4 separate regions of the Homo sapiens genome follow, and regions 1, 2 and 4 are each linked to region 3. The links are contacts of gene promoters, found by promoter capture Hi-C in blood cells and fetal thymus (Javierre and others, 2016). All regions are on one chromosome and are shown on one strand. The core of a region is centred on a gene start or on the middle of the fragment in contact, and the rest is flanking DNA. Distances in the headings are between cores, read along the strand shown. Region 1 overlaps MYH10 (myosin heavy chain 10). Region 2 overlaps NDEL1 (nudE neurodevelopment protein 1 like 1). Region 3 holds the start of SPDYE4 (speedy/RINGO cell cycle regulator family member E4). Region 4 overlaps MYH10 (myosin heavy chain 10).

Region 1 (3,984 bases), core at 1,004-3,503, 280 kb after region 3:
CACTTTCCAGCTAGCTTTGGCAAGCAGGTTCCTCAGATAGGACCTTTCTCTGAATTCATTTTTTCGTTAAAAGTCATTACTGAACTGAACGTCCATCATGCGCCTTTTTGAGCATGCCATCATGAGTAGTTAGAATTTGATTCTCAGTGCATTGGAAACCACTGAAGAGTTTCAGCGGTGGGGAGGCTGGGGTCGTGCTTGCGTTTTGAAAGCGACTCTGGCTGTTGTCTGTGGAGAACAGCTGGAGAGAGGCAGGCAGGGCAGCGGGAGGCCACCCAGCAGTCCAGGTGAGAGATGACAGGCCTGCATCTGGGTGGTGGCAGCGGGGGAGGGTGTTTGGAAGTGTCATCAGTGGGACCTACTGATGGATTTGGGGATGAGTGCAGGGGAAAGAGAAAATTCAGGATGGCTGCTCAGGTTTCCAGCAACAGGGTGGGTGGAGGAGCCTTCCCTGAGGCTCCTGTGCTGTGCTGAGCTGGGATTGAACCGTCCCCTCCTCCTCTCCCCGCCAGGTCCGCGCTGCTGGATGAGAAGCGGCGTCTGGAAGCTCGGATCGCACAGCTGGAGGAGGAGCTGGAAGAGGAGCAGAGCAACATGGAGCTGCTCAACGACCGCTTCCGCAAGACCACTCTACAGGTGGCCCATGCAGGAGCCCGTCACCCAGGGAGGGCTGTGCCACCCCTCAGGCACAAGTGACTAAACTCCTCTCTCCTCTCTAGGTGGACACACTGAACGCCGAGCTAGCAGCCGAGCGCAGCGCCGCCCAGAAGAGTGACAATGCACGCCAGCAACTGGAGCGGCAGAACAAGGAGCTGAAGGCCAAGCTGCAGGAACTCGAGGGTGCTGTCAAGTCTAAGTTCAAGGCCACCATCTCAGCCCTGGAGGCCAAGATTGGGCAGCTGGAGGAGCAGCTTGAGCAGGAAGCCAAGTAAGAGGTTTTTGCTACCGTAAACCAAAACTTACCAACTAGGCTCAGTCAGAGACAAAACAGGCATGCCCCTTTCGGGGGGGCTCCCCACCACGTGGGCAGAGAACACATATAACCAGAGTGGGACACAGAAGTTGGTGTGAGCTGTGAGAGAAGAGCTGTGAGCATTCAGAGCCTGGGAGGACAGACGGCATCCGTGAACAGTCAGGGAAGGCTGGGCTTTAGGACGGCGCCCCGTGATTTCCTAGGCACCCTGAGTTTGCATCTCCTACCCAAAGTCGATTTCCCAAGCGTGTGGCAGCCCATGAAATGCTAATTTGCTGCCAGAGAACAAATGCAGTATGACACAAATCAGAGCCTTTCTTCTCCCCATAGAAGGGATTGCTTAACAGCTTTCATATTGTTGTATTAAAGCATTCTGAAATTGATGAGAAATTGTACAGTACAGCTGCTGGCAGGCATATTACAAAGCTATTAGGTCATAGCGCCCAGAGCCAGGGCAGACCTTCAGATTCACCCTCTTGCTGGGGAGCTTGGAGCCCAGAAATGCAGGGCTCGCGGCCAGAACCCTGCATCCTCCCCAGCCTCTCGTGCCAGGACTTCCCACTCCATTCTTTGGACTCCAGTGGGCTGAAGCAAACAATTAAGGGTTTGTTTCTAGTTGGAATTAACATAAACACCCTTTCAGCTGACTGTCTCTATCTACTTTTGCATAATATTTGTTAAGCAACAAAATAACTTTTTCTGTCTTCCATGGAGTCCTCCAAATAAGTTACCTCTCCTTCATATGGGACGACGTAGATGCATCTGGAAACATGGATTTGTTTCACCTCTAACCAAAGAGGGAGTGTAGGGGGTTTGTTTTTGGGTTTTTTTTCAATGTGAGCTGCCAAAGCCCTCTACATCACAATAGGTAATTAGTAAATTATCAAGTGAAACAATCACTTAATAAATTGGGTTGTTTCTCAGGCTAAAAGTTTAGGTGATTAAACTAAGGATGGTGTCTTCAAAAGTCTATGTTCAGTATAACTGACAGGTAGATTGTATGTAACATTTGCTCTTTAGATCACTGTGTACAGGCCGGGTGCGCTGGCTCACGGCTGTAATCCCAGCACTTTGGGAGGCCAGGGCGGGCAGATCACCTGAGGTGAGGAGTTCGAGACCAGCCTGGCCAACGTAGTAAAACCCCGTCTCTGCTAAAAATACACAAATTAGCCCAGCGTGGTGGTGCATGCCTTGTAATCCCAGCTACTCAGGAGGCTGAGGCAGGAGAATTGCTTGAACCCAGGAGGCGGAGGTTGCAGCGAGCAGAGATGGCGCCACTGCACCCCAGCCTGGGCGACAGAGCAAGACTGCATCTCAAAAACAAACAAAGTAAGATAACTGAGTACAATGATGAATACCTGTGTACAGTAATTAACACCTACACGTGCAGGAATAATGCACTTATTCTACCTGTCACTATTGAGGAATACATTAAAGGCAATTCTGATTTTGACCAGAAGGAAAGGTTTCAGCACATTAGTCATGAATTCTGGACAGAGAGGTCCATAATGCCTCCACCATGTGTCATCTTCCCAAAGAAAAGGGGCTTTAAAAAATATTTTTTCCCACACAAAATACCATTTCAAGAATTTCAAAACTACTGTGACCACTTTCACAGGGAACGAGCAGCCGCCAACAAATTAGTCCGTCGCACTGAGAAGAAGCTGAAAGAAATCTTCATGCAGGTTGAGGATGAGCGTCGACACGCGGACCAGTATAAAGAGCAGGTACGCGAGGAAGTGCCTCCCTGGGAAGCGCGTGAGCAAAGGAACTGGTGGAGAATGAGCTGGTGGCACAACTGACCAGTGGAATTCAGGGCCCTCCCGATTCTGATGTTTCAGCTAACGTGGGCTGTTCCATGTTCCTGGTGGGCACTCCCAGTACCCGAGACACAGGAGGGCGGGGAGAGCAGGTCAGGAAGCAAGTTCAGTGAGGCCTGGACTGAACTGTAAAGCTCCTGCTTCCTCCACTAGAATGTGTGCTTCGTGAGTACAGGGATTTCTGCCTGTTTTGCTCCCTGTTATCTCCCTAATGCCTAGTATAGTTTCTGGATATTGCTGGCAGTCATGAGATACTGGCTGGGTGTAGGGTGGGCACAGGAGATACTGAATAGAAAGTGAAGGGAAGACAAAGGTACTGCACGCTGCACCCGAGTGAGCTTCAGCGTCTGCATCCAGGCCCCCTTTTCTAAGTACACAGGGAATGTTCCGCAGGACTTTGAACTGTGGGTCAGGCCTGCCCTGATTGCAGCGTGGGCAGCTATACCCTCCCTCCCGCTCCCTGCCCTCTGCCTGGTGAGACTTCACACTGCAGACACTGGCCAGAAAGGTGGATGGATCTGAGGATTTCACTGCCTTTGGCCCGAACCCTCCCCAACTTCATTCATTCAGTCAGGCAACCTGGCCTTCCCTTCCCACCCCCACCCTTGGGGCCTAGCAACACGGAGCACAGTTGAGGGTGGTGTGCGCTGGACCCACGAAGCACTGACCAGTGCCTGTGTGGCTCAGGAATGAAGGGTCCAAAAGGGAGGCTCTTAGTTCTGTGGCATGTCATCCCAGGGTGGCTTTCTGCTTGAATCCAAGTCTAGTATCTGAGATGCCCATCCTTGAAAGGAGGTGTAAAGATGCATTGTACCATCTTCTGGGCTGGGGATTGTCCCACATTGCTGGTTCTTCCACGTTTTGCAAGAATAGCAATTCCCTTTCAGTCCCCTAGGTCACGTGTGTGAAGACAGTAAACGCTGTCATTTTTCTGCAGAAAACTCACTGGTAAAAACAGAGTCTTGAGTACTTTTTCATTTCTTTTGGCCTAGTGTGCTTTGTAGATGCTAGCTTTGCTGAGAGCGGCAGGCCGGTTACAGAGCCTCCGACCAGCCCCCAGGCACGCGTGTACATCCGTGTACACGCGTGCTCACAAGGGTAACAGGCAGAGCCCCACACTGCCACGCTCGGGGTACAGAGAGGCCGACACTGGATTCACCAGTTTGGTTTGTTTTGGTTCATGTACCCTCC
Region 2 (3,906 bases), core at 452-2,951, 300 kb after region 3:
CTTTACATGAAATTAAAAGCTATTTTATTTCTGACAGCACTCTGTAAAATGTTTAACTGATACCCTTTGTCTGTAATTAAATAATTCACCCGCAAATGACACTGGCCTTTTAGCATTTACCTCTAAATTGGGCACCCTTGTTTTGCACCTGTCACCACAACACCTGGCAAGCACAGGGCTCTACCAACGCAGATGACATGGAGAGATCAGGCGTTTCTCATGTATTTCCACACACTCACACTTCACCAGCTGTCTCTTTCCCATAAACACTTTGCCCAAATCAAACCCCTCCTTCTCCGAAAAGAAAAATACTATCCATGGCAAAATATATATATACACAATTCATGTCTATTATCCATGACAGTAAAGGACTGGGAATGCACAGCTAAATTAAATCCACAGGTAACATATACTTCACTTTGAGAATCCATTTGGACCTCCTCCCCCCACATTTCAATAACAGCTATTCAGAAACAGCAACAATGGTTGGGTGCAGTGGCTCATTCCTGTAATCCCAGCACTTTAGGAGGCCAAGGCAGGTGGATCACTTGAGGCCATGAGTTCGAGACCAGCCTGGCCAAGATGGTAAAACCCTGTCTCTACTAAAGAAAAAATAAAAAAATTAGCTGGGTGTGGTGGCATGCACCTGTAATCCCAGCTACGCAGGAGGCTAAGGCACAAGAATCACTGGAACCCAGGAAGCAGAGATTGCTGTGAGCCTTGATAGCACCACTGCACTACAGCCTGGGCGACAGAGTGAGACTCTGTCTCAAAAAAAAGAAACAGCAACAAAAACAGACAAACTTTTTTCTTCTCCTTCTTTCCTATGACAAAAGTACAATGACCTACTAAAATGACAACAGAAAAAAGGAAGAGAGGTAATGACCTTGTAAAACAAACTCTGAATAAGCATAATTCAGCAATAATTCAGCAGCTTATTAAAGCTACACACACACACACACACACAGTAGAAATTGAGAGCCATTCAATTCCTATATTCAAGACACGCATTCATTCAAATCCATATTGAGTATCTATCACACGGCAGGCACAACTTATGTCTGAGACATCAGTGAGACATCCAAGCACGAGCACCAGGTCTTTTGAGGGGGGAAAGGGTGGTCTAGAGATTAAGATTTGAAAGACATCCACACCCAGGGGTGGATGAAACTATGGCTGTGATTAAGATCAGAAAATCAAGGACAGAACTCTGAGTAAAACCAATATCGAAAGGGTGAGCAGATGAAGACCCAACAAGATGACTAAGAGGAATGGAAAGAAAGTTGGGAGCAGCCATGAAACAGCATCAGAGAAGGAGAGAAAAGAGGGCATTAAAAAAAAAAAACGGTCAGTGTTGAATGCTTCAAGTAAAATTAGGACAGAACGGCATCCACAGGATTTGACAGCACTGAGATCACCAGTGAGCAGTTTTAGCGGCATAAGCAGGGGACAGAGCCCAGGCTAAAGTGTCTGGGGCGTGTGCATGCAGTCAAAATGCTAACAATAAATGGGGACACGCTTTCAAGAAGCTTTAAAGTATGTAATATGTACCACATAAGTATTACATATATTTATATGGATAACATGTAATACAGAAATATCAAAGTATACCTGTATAACACATAACATATAATGTGTAATACATAAACATTATACATAAATATTAACGCATATATAGTAAAAGGCTGAAATACAGGAGAAATAAAGATTTAAGGGTTGGAAGAAATGAGATCCAAAGCACAGATGGACAAAATTAGCCACGGACAGGAATTTGCACTTTTACCACTGGGACAAAAAGGAGGAATGGCTACAAATAGAGGTAATAATAGGAGAGTAATAACAAAAGATGAGAAAAGAAATCAAAGAAGCTTAAAACAAATGGCCTTGATTTTCTCTGTGAAGGCATGCAAGAGTGGAGAAGGGCTTCCAGTTCAAGTCAGTGGACAAAGTCGTGTAAAGAGGCATAAATGAAATATTCATAAAAGCCAACAAGGGCTGGTGGACACCAGCAGACCCAAAGTGTTGATGACTTTTGGAGGTCGTTATTTTGATAACTCTTAGAAGACGGATTGTCAGCTGAATGTGTAAACCATACAAGGATGCCAAATTAAACTTTCATGCACCACTTCTGAATAAATTAAAGTACTAAAGCAAAACAAACAAGGAACAAAGACAGACAACAACGTGGGGTGAGGAACAGGCAGAACTAACCCAAGAGTAAAATGGAGAGAAATTCGAGGGCGACAACAATGCAGCAGCCCTCGAAGCCCATCAGGGCATCCCACAAAGAGTGTGAAGAAGAAGCTAGAAGATCCGAGAGCAAAGAAAGGTGTAGGTTTCTTCTACTCAAAAGAAAGAAGGGGAAACAGAAATGCTAGGAAAAGAAAGCAGCGTACAGTCAGCTACAATACGAAATATTTAAAAACCCAGTATGATTTTGAGTAAATTACAGTTAAAGAACAAAATTCTCAAAACACATTTGTTGAATGGCACAAATATAAAGACCCATCTGAAAGTCCAGCATCTCCTCTGTGATTACACAGTAAATAACACATATATGTGCATTGTTACAAATGCTGTTTGACTACTTTTCCATTTTTAGAACCAACCAACAGAGAGCTCACACAGCTAGTAGAGGGCTCAGAAAAGGAAAGCGGAGTGGGAGTGTGGTGGGGAAGAAAGGGAGAGAACAGCGAGTTAAGATATAGTCTAATACTGGCCAGACATGGTGGCTCATGCCTGTAATCCCAGCACTTTGGCAGGCCAAGGCAGGCAGATCACCTGAAGTCAGGCGTTCAAGACCAGCATGGCCAACATGGTGAAACCCCGTCTCTACTAAAAATACAAAAATTAGCCAGGTGTGGTGGCATGTGCCTGTAATCCCAGCTACTCAGGAGGCTGATGCAGGAGAATCGCTTGAACCTGGGAGGCAGAGGTTGCAGTGAGCTGAGATCGTGCCGCTGCACTCCAGCCTTGGCAACAAAGCGAGACTCCGTTCTCAAAAAAAAAAAAAAAAAAAAAAAGATATAACCTAATACATTCAGAAACAAAAGTTCAAGAATGTTAAAGTAATTTTTTTAAAAGAACAAAAAATAAAAATAAAAATATCTTTGCTTAAAGTTGAGTAAATCAAGATAAACAGAAAAATAAGCACATGATTTCAAGTTATAAAGACAAATACTCCAACATAGAGGATTTTAAAATGGTTATCTTGGGAGTGAAGAAAGATTACTCTATGTACTGTAGGAACGACCTGTGCACTTTACTTTGTATTTTAACCTTAAAAATGCAGGTTTAATCTGATGGTTAGAAAATAACCCCTATGATGAGCTGAAACAGGCAAACATAGGACCTGTGTCTTGGCCTCCCATATCTGCTTTAGATAAAGTATAATGCAATTTCTACATTTTTTAGAAAGTGTCACACACGAAAATAAGTGAAGGGGGTAGTAGATAGTGGGAAATGGCAATGGTTGATTACTGAAAGGAGAGGTAAAACTCACTAAGGGAAATAGTAATGGGAGCTAATGCTAGAAATGCTGACTTGATAGTGGCATAAATCCACATGGTTCTGCAACTGTTTCCAGTAATTCAGACTGCAGATCTCCTTTGTGGCCAGAGAGACCATGAAGTCAACAGTGACAGAGTAAGAGATGTGTGAGATCACAGATGAATAGAAAGGAAGTGAAAGCAAGAGATGGCTGATAAAAACAAACACACTAAAAAATGGGGTAATACTCTTGATGAGGTTAAAGAGTAGGTATGGTACACAGTAACACACTGATTAAGCAGAAAAACGGGTTTAATTTTTTTTTTTTTTTTTTTTTTGAGATGGAGTCTTGCTGTCTGTTGCCCAGGCTGGAGTGCAGTGGCTCGATCTCGGCTCACTGCAACCTCCGCCTCCTGG
Region 3 (3,959 bases), core at 224-2,723:
TATGTAAAACTGGCTTGAAGAGTGATTAATCAGAACTTTACGTGGTACAGAAGAGAAATTTTAATGGCAACAGAATATTGATCTTCTAATGTTTGAAAGCCTATTAAATAGGAGAGAAAGATGATTTTCTGTTTTGTTGTAAAAGGATCCAACCAGTTCTGATGGTTGAAAGCATCGTGAATGCGAAGGTCCACTCAATGTAAGCAGAGTTTCCTAACAATTGGACTTCCACAGCGACGGGATCTGCCTCCTCATTCAGTTGTGCCTTTCCCATCAGCGAGAGACTCCTAGGAGCCCATTAGGAAGCTGTGCCAGAACTCACAGGTTCTTTGGATGGTATCTGAGATAGTATCCAGCTCTTACATTTTTATTTTTTCCGAAAAAAATATTTTTGAGACTGAGTCTCACTCTGTCCTCCAGGCTGGTGTGCAGTGGTGCAATCATAGCTCACTGCAGCCTCAAACACTTGGGCTGAAGCAATCCTCCTGCCTCAGCCTCCCAAGTACTGGGACCACAGGTGTGTGCCACGATTCCTGATTACTTTGTTTATATTTTGTAGAGATGACGTTTTGCTATGTTGCCCAGACTAATCTTGAACTCCTAACCTCAAGTGACGCCCTGCCTTGGCCTCCCAAAGGAGGGAGATTATGAGCAGGAGCCCCTGGGCCTGGCTGAGATTTTCCCCTTAGTCTTTTTATACACAGGATATTTTATTCATAAAATACATAAATAGTAGGCAAATTTTGGGGTCAAGTGAAATAGATATGTTGTAATAGTTGATATATAGACCAGAGTTCCTTAGCTGAACTGGAGGGCAGGCTTTAGGTGATCCATGGATGCCCTGAACTTGTGGACACCATTGAAAATCTGTACGAAACCATGGACAGTCTCCTGTGATTTTCATTCCTCAAAATGTCTCTTGGACTCAAAGATGCCTGAGAGCAAAGGATGCATGTTCCCCTACTATAGGATCCAGGATAGTGAATATCAGTAAACATTCAGCAAAAAAGCTTTGCCACATTGAGTACTTCGACGTAACGTCTCCATTCAACAAGTCAATTTACCCAGGATCTCCTGTATATGTTAATCTCACTCTTGGAAGGACTCATCATTCTGCTTACCCTAAATTTCCTTCCACCTTCCTCCCTCTCTCACCAGACTAGACTCTGAAATGGGAAGGAGAAGCGGGGAGGAGAGCCCAACACCCCCTCAAGTTTAGAGTGGAGAGGACACAGCCTCTGCTGGGACAGGGAAAAGAGGAATGTGGAGACCCTGAGGATGCTTTTGGACAATGCTCAGAGGTTGGGACATTGCCAGGAGATACCGTTCACCCCGGATCTCCAAGAAAAGAGATCAGTCTGGCAGTTACATGTGTTTTTCTTCAAAGTAGTTGCCAGTTTGGAATGACCGATGACATCAGAGATTCCGACTTTCCTGATTGGAAGGACCGGACTCTGGTTGCTTGGGAGTTCAGGTGGACAACAGCAACTTCTCAGAACTACTCTTCACTCCTAACTTCTCCCGAGCCTCTAGAAGAGAAACGCACTCTTCTGGGTCCTAACGGAGTCTGGAAGAAGGCTTTGGACAGAACAGGGACTAGGTTTTGTGGACAGAAACAAAGTGTTTGGGAGAGATTATGGCCAGTGGTCAAGCGCGCCCCCCGTTTGAGGAGGAGAGCCCCCAGCCTAGCACAACGGTACGGTCCCCCGAGGTGGTGGTGGATGATGAAGTGCCAGGACCATCAGGTGAGGTGACTGGAGGGAGAAGCGATGGGAGATGATTGACTGAGGAGAGGGAAGGGGGCCAGTTACTGGGAATCTGAAGCACCTGAGTAGGGTGTGTGGGAAAGAAACGACGGACTCAGGAAGCCAGGGATCGGGGAAGGAGGGTGCAGGGAATGGGGCCAAGCATGGCCACGTGTAAAGAAAGTCTGGGGAGCAATGAAGGGGGTCAGGAGATGTGCTCAAAAGATGAGAGAGGAAGGCCGAGGCGGACGGATCACGAGGTCAGAAGATCGAGACCATCCTGGTTAACACGATGAAACCCTGTCTCTACCAAAAATACAAAAGTGAGTTGGGCATGGTGGTGCGTGCCTGTAGTCCCAGCTACTCAAGAGGCTGAGGCAGGAGAATCATTTGAACCCAGGAGGCGGAGGTTGCAGTGAACCAAGATTGTGCCACTGCACTCCGGTCTGGGCAACAAGAGGGAGACTCCATCTCAAAAAAAAAAAAAAGAGAGAGAGAGAGAGAGAGCAGACAGAGCTCAAGGGAAGGTTTCCATTTTTCTCCAATTGAAAGTTCTTATCTGTGATGAGGAAATGTTTTGAGGACAGAGAGCCGGAAGAATGGGGAGGTGAGGGAGAGGCAGATGGGGATCAGCAAAGGAGAAAGGTGGAAACATGGCTTGGAGAAGCTGACAGTCTGCGAGGCTTGGGAGGATGGAAGAGTAGTTTGAGGTTCCTGGGTCGGGGCGTCTAAGGTGATCAATGGCAGAAACATGACACCATGGCCTGGTTTCTTCACTCAGCCCCTTGGATAGATCCCAGCCCCCAGCCTCAATCCCTTGGCCTGAAAAGGAAGAGCGAATGGTCAGACGAATCCGAGGAGGAGCTGGAGGAGGAGCTGGAGTTGGAGCGCGCCCCTGAGCCCGAGGACACCTGGGTGGTGGAGACGCTGTGTGGGCTCAAGATGAAGCTGAAGCGAAAGCGAGCATCCTCCGTGCTCCCTGAGCACCACGAGGCCTTCAACAGGCTCCTTGGTAGGAGGATACCCCAAAAAGCACCTCCAACCCTGTTCTTTTAAAAAAGTGGAATCTTTCAATAATCACACTTTCCCAATAAGAAGAATATGCCCTCCTGGGGGATGAGCGCTCCATGCAGGAGGAGGATGCTTAGGAGATAGAGGATTAGGCTAGTCTTAATAAAGGTCTGCACTTGAAATAAGAAAGCTTGGTTTCTGGCCAGGTGCAGTGGCTCATGCCTGAGATCTTGGTGCTTTGGGAGGCTGAGGCGGGAGGATCTCTTGAACTCAGGAGTTTGAAGTTGCAATGAGCTATGATTGCACCACTGCACTCCAGCCTGGTTGACAAGGAAAGACCCTGTCATAAAATAAATAAAATAAAATAAAATAAAAGATAAAAGAAAGCTTGGTTTCAGCTGTACCCTCTGAAACTCTATGTCTCTTGATGACTTTTCTAAACCTAAGTGTCTCCATCCGTGGAGGGGGATAACAAGGCCATGGGCACACCCAGCTGTGACTATCTCAGGAAGCAATGATGGGAATTCTATTATGACTTCTGCAGTGGTCCCTTCCTGTCTGATGGGAGGACATCATGGCTTATTCACAGCTCTTCATCCTGTAGACTCTGACACCAGAGGCCTCCTTCGGCCTCTCCTCAGGGGAATCTCAGAGCGGGAGCCTCCCTCCTTGCCCAGTGAAAGTCCTTCTCTCCTCTCCCATCCACCTAAGCCTTGGCCACAATCCTGAGACTTCCCCCAGAGGGACACAGTTCTCCTCTCTGCTCTGCTGCTCCCACGGCAACCCTGTTCCACTTCTCACCCTGACACAGGCTCTCTTTTCACAGGGGATCCTGTCGTTCAAAAATTCCTGGCCTGGGACAAAGACCTGAGGGTGTCAGACAAGGTAAGGTTGTTCTCCACTCAACTGTGTTCCTGCTTTAACACACGTCCTGGGGAAGGGTGCAGCGTCTAAACCCACAGTTTCTCTCCTCTCTCCCTCTACCATCTCCCACCTGCTGATTCCATACTCTTGGGCGCCCACATTTTGATTTTTATTTTTTCAGAAACAGGGTCTCGTTCTGTTGCCCAGGCTGGAATGCAGTGTTGCCATCATAGCTCACTGCAGCCTCAGCCTCCTGGGCTCAAGTGATCCTCCCGCCTCGGCCTCTCCAATAGCTGGGACTCCAGGCGTGAGTCACCGCCCCCAGCTATTCTAGGTCTT
Region 4 (3,867 bases), core at 486-2,985, 260 kb after region 3:
TCCCAGCTACTCAGGAGGCTGAGGCAGGAGAATCGCTTGAATCCAGGGAGGTGGAGATTGCAGTGAGCCGAGATCACGCCACTGCACTCCAGCCTGGACTACAGAACAAGACTCTGTCTCAAAAAAAAAAAAAAAAAAAGGCATAGTATTTGCATATATGCACATCCTCCCATATACTATAAATCATCTCTAGATTACTTATAATACCTAAGACGATGTAACTGCTATGTAAAAAGTTGTTACACTGTATGTTTTAGGAAATAACGACTCAAAAAAGTCATGTTTTTAGGAAATAACCCAAAAAAGTCATGAACTGTACATGGTCAGTGCACATGCAGGGGTTTTTTTCTGATTTTTTTTTTTTTTTTTTTTTTTTTTTTTGAGACAGAGTCTCGCTCTGTCGGCCAGGCTGGAGTGCAGTGGCGCAATCTCGGCTCACTGCAAGCTCTGCCTCCCGGGTTCACACAATTCTCCTGCCTCAGCCTCCTGGGTAGCTGGGACTACAGGCACCCGCCACCATGCCTGGCTAATTTTTTGCATTTCTAGTAGAGATGGGGTTTCACTGTGTTAGCCAGGATGGTCTCGATCTCCTGACCTCGTGATCTGCCTGCCTCAGCCTCCCAAAGTGCTGGGATTACAGGCATGAGCCACCGCGCCCGGCCCTTTTCTGAATATTTTTAATACATGGTTGGTTGAATCCACAGATGGAACCTATGGATAGGAAGGGCTGACTGTGGTTGGAAATAACTTTAATGTTTAATACGGACTTCTATGCAACCAGCAAAAACAATATAGTCGATGAGTCCTTATTGGTAAGAAAAGATGTACATCCTATATTGCCACATTGAAAAAGAATTACAGAGCTGTCTTGTGTCCGAGGCCCAAGACCACACTACAGTACATGATTCTCCAGGACTCTAGGACTCAGCACAGAGGCCTGCTCATGGCAAAGATTTATTACAGTGAAAAGATACAAAGCAAAATCAGTAAAAGGAAAGGGCACGAGGGCTGAGGTGCTGAGGAAACCAGGAACAAGCTTCCAGGAGTCCTCTCCCAGCGGAGTCACACAGCACGTGCTTAATTCCTCCAGCAGTGAGTCCTGACAGCATGCGTGAAATGTTTTCTTCCAAGAAGCCCATTACAGACTCGGCCCCCAGGGTTTTTATTAGGGGCTGGTTACATAGGCACCTCTTGCCTAGCATAAACCCAAATTGCAGACTCCCAGAAGAAACGTAGGTGTTCAACATAGACCATATTGTTTACATGGACAGTTTAGAGAAAAGCCACCCTTATTGTTCAGGAAATAGTGGGAACTCTTGCTAAATTCAAGTTCCCACACACCAGCCAAAGGTCAACATCGCAAGCAGGCCTTTCGAAGGAGGGTGGTCCCGGCCTGCTGTGTTAACGTGTAGGTACTGAAATATTGTGTGCGTGCTCTCACACACAATCTGGAAAGCTATTCCTAAAAGAGAAAATCTCTGAAACAGCATTATGAACTCTGCCTACGGCGGGGAAGGGAGGGGAGTGACAGTTCCTTGTCCCCTGTGCTGCACCAGGCATGTGCTAGGCTCCCATGTACGTTGTTCCCCATTTAAACCTCAGTCAACCCCTCTGGTAGGTGAGGAACCTGAGGCTCAAAGAAGCTAAGGCTCTTGCCCGCTCTGGTGACTTACCTGGCAACTTCTAGAGCTGGTGCTGAAGGCAGGAGTCCCTCTTGACTTTGGAGCCCTTCCCCACCACACTGTTCCCAAGACTGATGAAGTGTGAGCTCTGTGAAGGATGTTGCTAAACAGAGTGACCATGGAAGCGTTACAGCATGTGCTCTGCTGTGGCTGTGCCACCGTCCACTCTCCCTTGGCCGGTGTGACGAGGACTAGCGAGAACGCACGGCGCCCTGCTGCCCCTCTGCGTCCCTCTGCGTCTTCCCAGCACCCACTGTCGTCAAAAATTATAAAGCATCTTATACCACAAAGATTTGTTTGGAAAATATTTTAGAAATATCATTAATTGCGAAGAAAAAAATATTATTAATTAAATCTGACCATAAGAAATAGCTTAAATATTCATGATGAACATATAATACCAGTTTTTTGAAACCTAAAAGAACTTCCAGCCGGGTGTGGTGGCTCACATCTGTCATCCCAGCACTTTGGGAGGCCGGGGCAGGCAGATCAGGAGGTCAGGAGTTCGAGACCAGCCTGGCCAACATGGTGAAACCCCGTCTCTACTAAAGATACAAAAAATTAGACGGGCGCGGTAGCAAGCGCCTGTAATCCCAGCCACTCGGGAGGCTGAGGCAGGAGAATCGCTTGAACCCAGGAGGCAAAGGTTGCAGTGAGCCCAGATTGCACCACTGCACTCCAGCCAGGGCGACAGGGTGAGACTATCTCAAAAAAAAAAAAAACTTTCTTGTACCCCTTTTATAGAAGCTTCAAGTTCTATAAGAATGTGAATTATACTTTCCTCCCAAAACATATGGTTAACGCATATTCGTGTGAAGGACCAAAATCAAGCACCTGCTGGCCTTCAGCCTCCCCACAGAGGATACAGTCACTCTTTCAGAGGCTTTGCTTTAATTTTTGTATCTTCATGATAAAAATAGAAGAAGGTAGGAAACCAGTTAGGAGACCCCCCGCCCCCTGTCCTTTTCATGGGTAGAGACTATTAAGGTGGCCAGGGAGGCAGGTTCTAGTACCTACTTATTTGAGCTCCGTTTGAAGGCAACAGACTCTTGGTGGTGAGTCTTCCTTAACTGAATGGGTAGTTTCAGGTTCACACTCCCGCCGAGTTCTTCTCTGTGTTCTGTTTAAAAGCTGTGTTTCTAGACCCTTTCTGCTTGCTTACTATTGAGTTGAATTTAATCTTCTGCTCCTTACAGAATGAGCTAGATAATGTCTCCACCCTTCTGGAAGAAGCAGAGAAGAAGGGTATTAAATTTGCTAAGGATGCAGCTAGTCTTGAGTCTCAACTACAGGATACACAGGTATTCCCTGGGGAGCAAGGGGTCTTTATAATAACTAACATTTCTGTAATATATAAGCTGGTGAAATATGCTGGCCCCAGAATTGCCTTCTGTGTCACCTCTTACTAGTTTTATGTCATACTTTTATTTGGAGCCAGCCTTGCTACTCGGGATTTCTCCCTGGAAGCTCAGTGTCTTGATGTAGAGCCCCTGGGGTTCGTGTGTCTGGCAGGCACGTGGGTGGCCTCGGAGACAGCTCCAGCTGCCATTCACGGCCGCTGCCTGGGCTGTGGTTGACCCAAGCTATGGTCCTGCTGCACACAATGTCTTGCTGGCCATTTCCAATAAGATTGTTTCCTTATGGTTGGAATTTCATCGTGCTGACCTGTGAGAAACAGTCCATTTTGTAAAAGGGTGAGTTGAGGCTTATCAGACTGTTAAGACCTGTATTGCATCATCCGTTAGGGATGTTTTTAAGTCAGCTACAGGTTACTTGAAAATAATGTAGCACTTTATTCTTGGAGTTTTACAGCTTAGTTTTGTTAAATTTACAAACACTTATGAGTGTTTATTTGCCAGGCTTTAGGCTAGGTGCTGGGGATTAAAAAAAAAAATCTCAGACAGGCCAAAAGTGGAATAATTAGGCAGTTGGGGACAAGTTCATTTTTACCAAAGCACACCCCATGCATGACAAGGTGCGGCCTGGTGAGTGAGACTAGAGGAGGCCGAAGCCATGGCCCAGAAATTCTGCTCCACACAACCAATGCCTCTGAAGACTTTGCAGTCTGAAAGTAACAGGAAAAACATGTTTGTGCTTACATTTTAGAAGTCAATCTGGCAGGAAATACAAAGGACGATAACTGAGGGATGCCTAAGACGGGAGAGGTGATCCTAGTTCGAAGGGC

What was found. The method cuts DNA at HindIII sites, captures the fragments that hold promoters and counts their contacts. A CHiCAGO score of 5 or more calls a contact.
Region 1: a contact is called between a fragment that was not itself captured here and the fragment with the promoter of SPDYE4 in region 3, in 10 of 17 cell types (megakaryocytes, total CD8 T cells, naive CD4 T cells and 7 more). The highest score is 10.9, in megakaryocytes.
Region 2: a fragment that was not itself captured here is called in contact with the fragment with the promoter of SPDYE4 in region 3 in 4 of 17 cell types (total CD8 T cells, megakaryocytes, monocytes and 1 more); the score reaches 9.5 in total CD8 T cells.
Region 4: a contact is called between a fragment that was not itself captured here and the fragment with the promoter of SPDYE4 in region 3, in 1 of 17 cell types (megakaryocytes). The highest score is 5.9, in megakaryocytes.

What each region holds. Positions count from the first base shown.
Region 1 is chr17:8,477,054-8,481,037 of GRCh38, reverse strand. It overlaps MYH10 (myosin heavy chain 10), which reads left to right. Exons shown (of 43, transcript NM_001256012.3): 39 at 513-636; 40 at 720-928; 41 at 2,592-2,700. Among named protein-coding and RNA genes, the nearest start is that of NDEL1, 43 kb to the right of the region's middle. RefSeq lists a silencer at 3,933-3,984. The HindIII fragment of the contact is 8,636 bases long and covers 1-3,984 here.
Region 2 is chr17:8,455,610-8,459,515 of GRCh38, reverse strand. All of the region lies in intron 7 of NDEL1 (nudE neurodevelopment protein 1 like 1), which reads right to left. Among named protein-coding and RNA genes, the nearest start is that of NDEL1, 22 kb to the right of the region's middle. The HindIII fragment of the contact is 339 bases long and covers 1,532-1,870 here.
Region 3 is chr17:8,756,060-8,760,018 of GRCh38, reverse strand. It overlaps SPDYE4 (speedy/RINGO cell cycle regulator family member E4), which reads left to right and starts at 1,473. Exons shown (of 7, transcript NM_001394956.1): 1 at 1,473-1,745; 2 at 2,527-2,757; 3 at 3,583-3,641. The coding sequence starts at 1,637. The HindIII fragment of the contact is 1,936 bases long and covers 1,013-2,948 here.
Region 4 is chr17:8,494,253-8,498,119 of GRCh38, reverse strand. It overlaps MYH10 (myosin heavy chain 10), which reads left to right. Exons shown (of 43, transcript NM_001256012.3): 31 at 2,879-2,983. Among named protein-coding and RNA genes, the nearest start is that of NDEL1, 60 kb to the right of the region's middle. The HindIII fragment of the contact is 1,393 bases long and covers 1,039-2,431 here.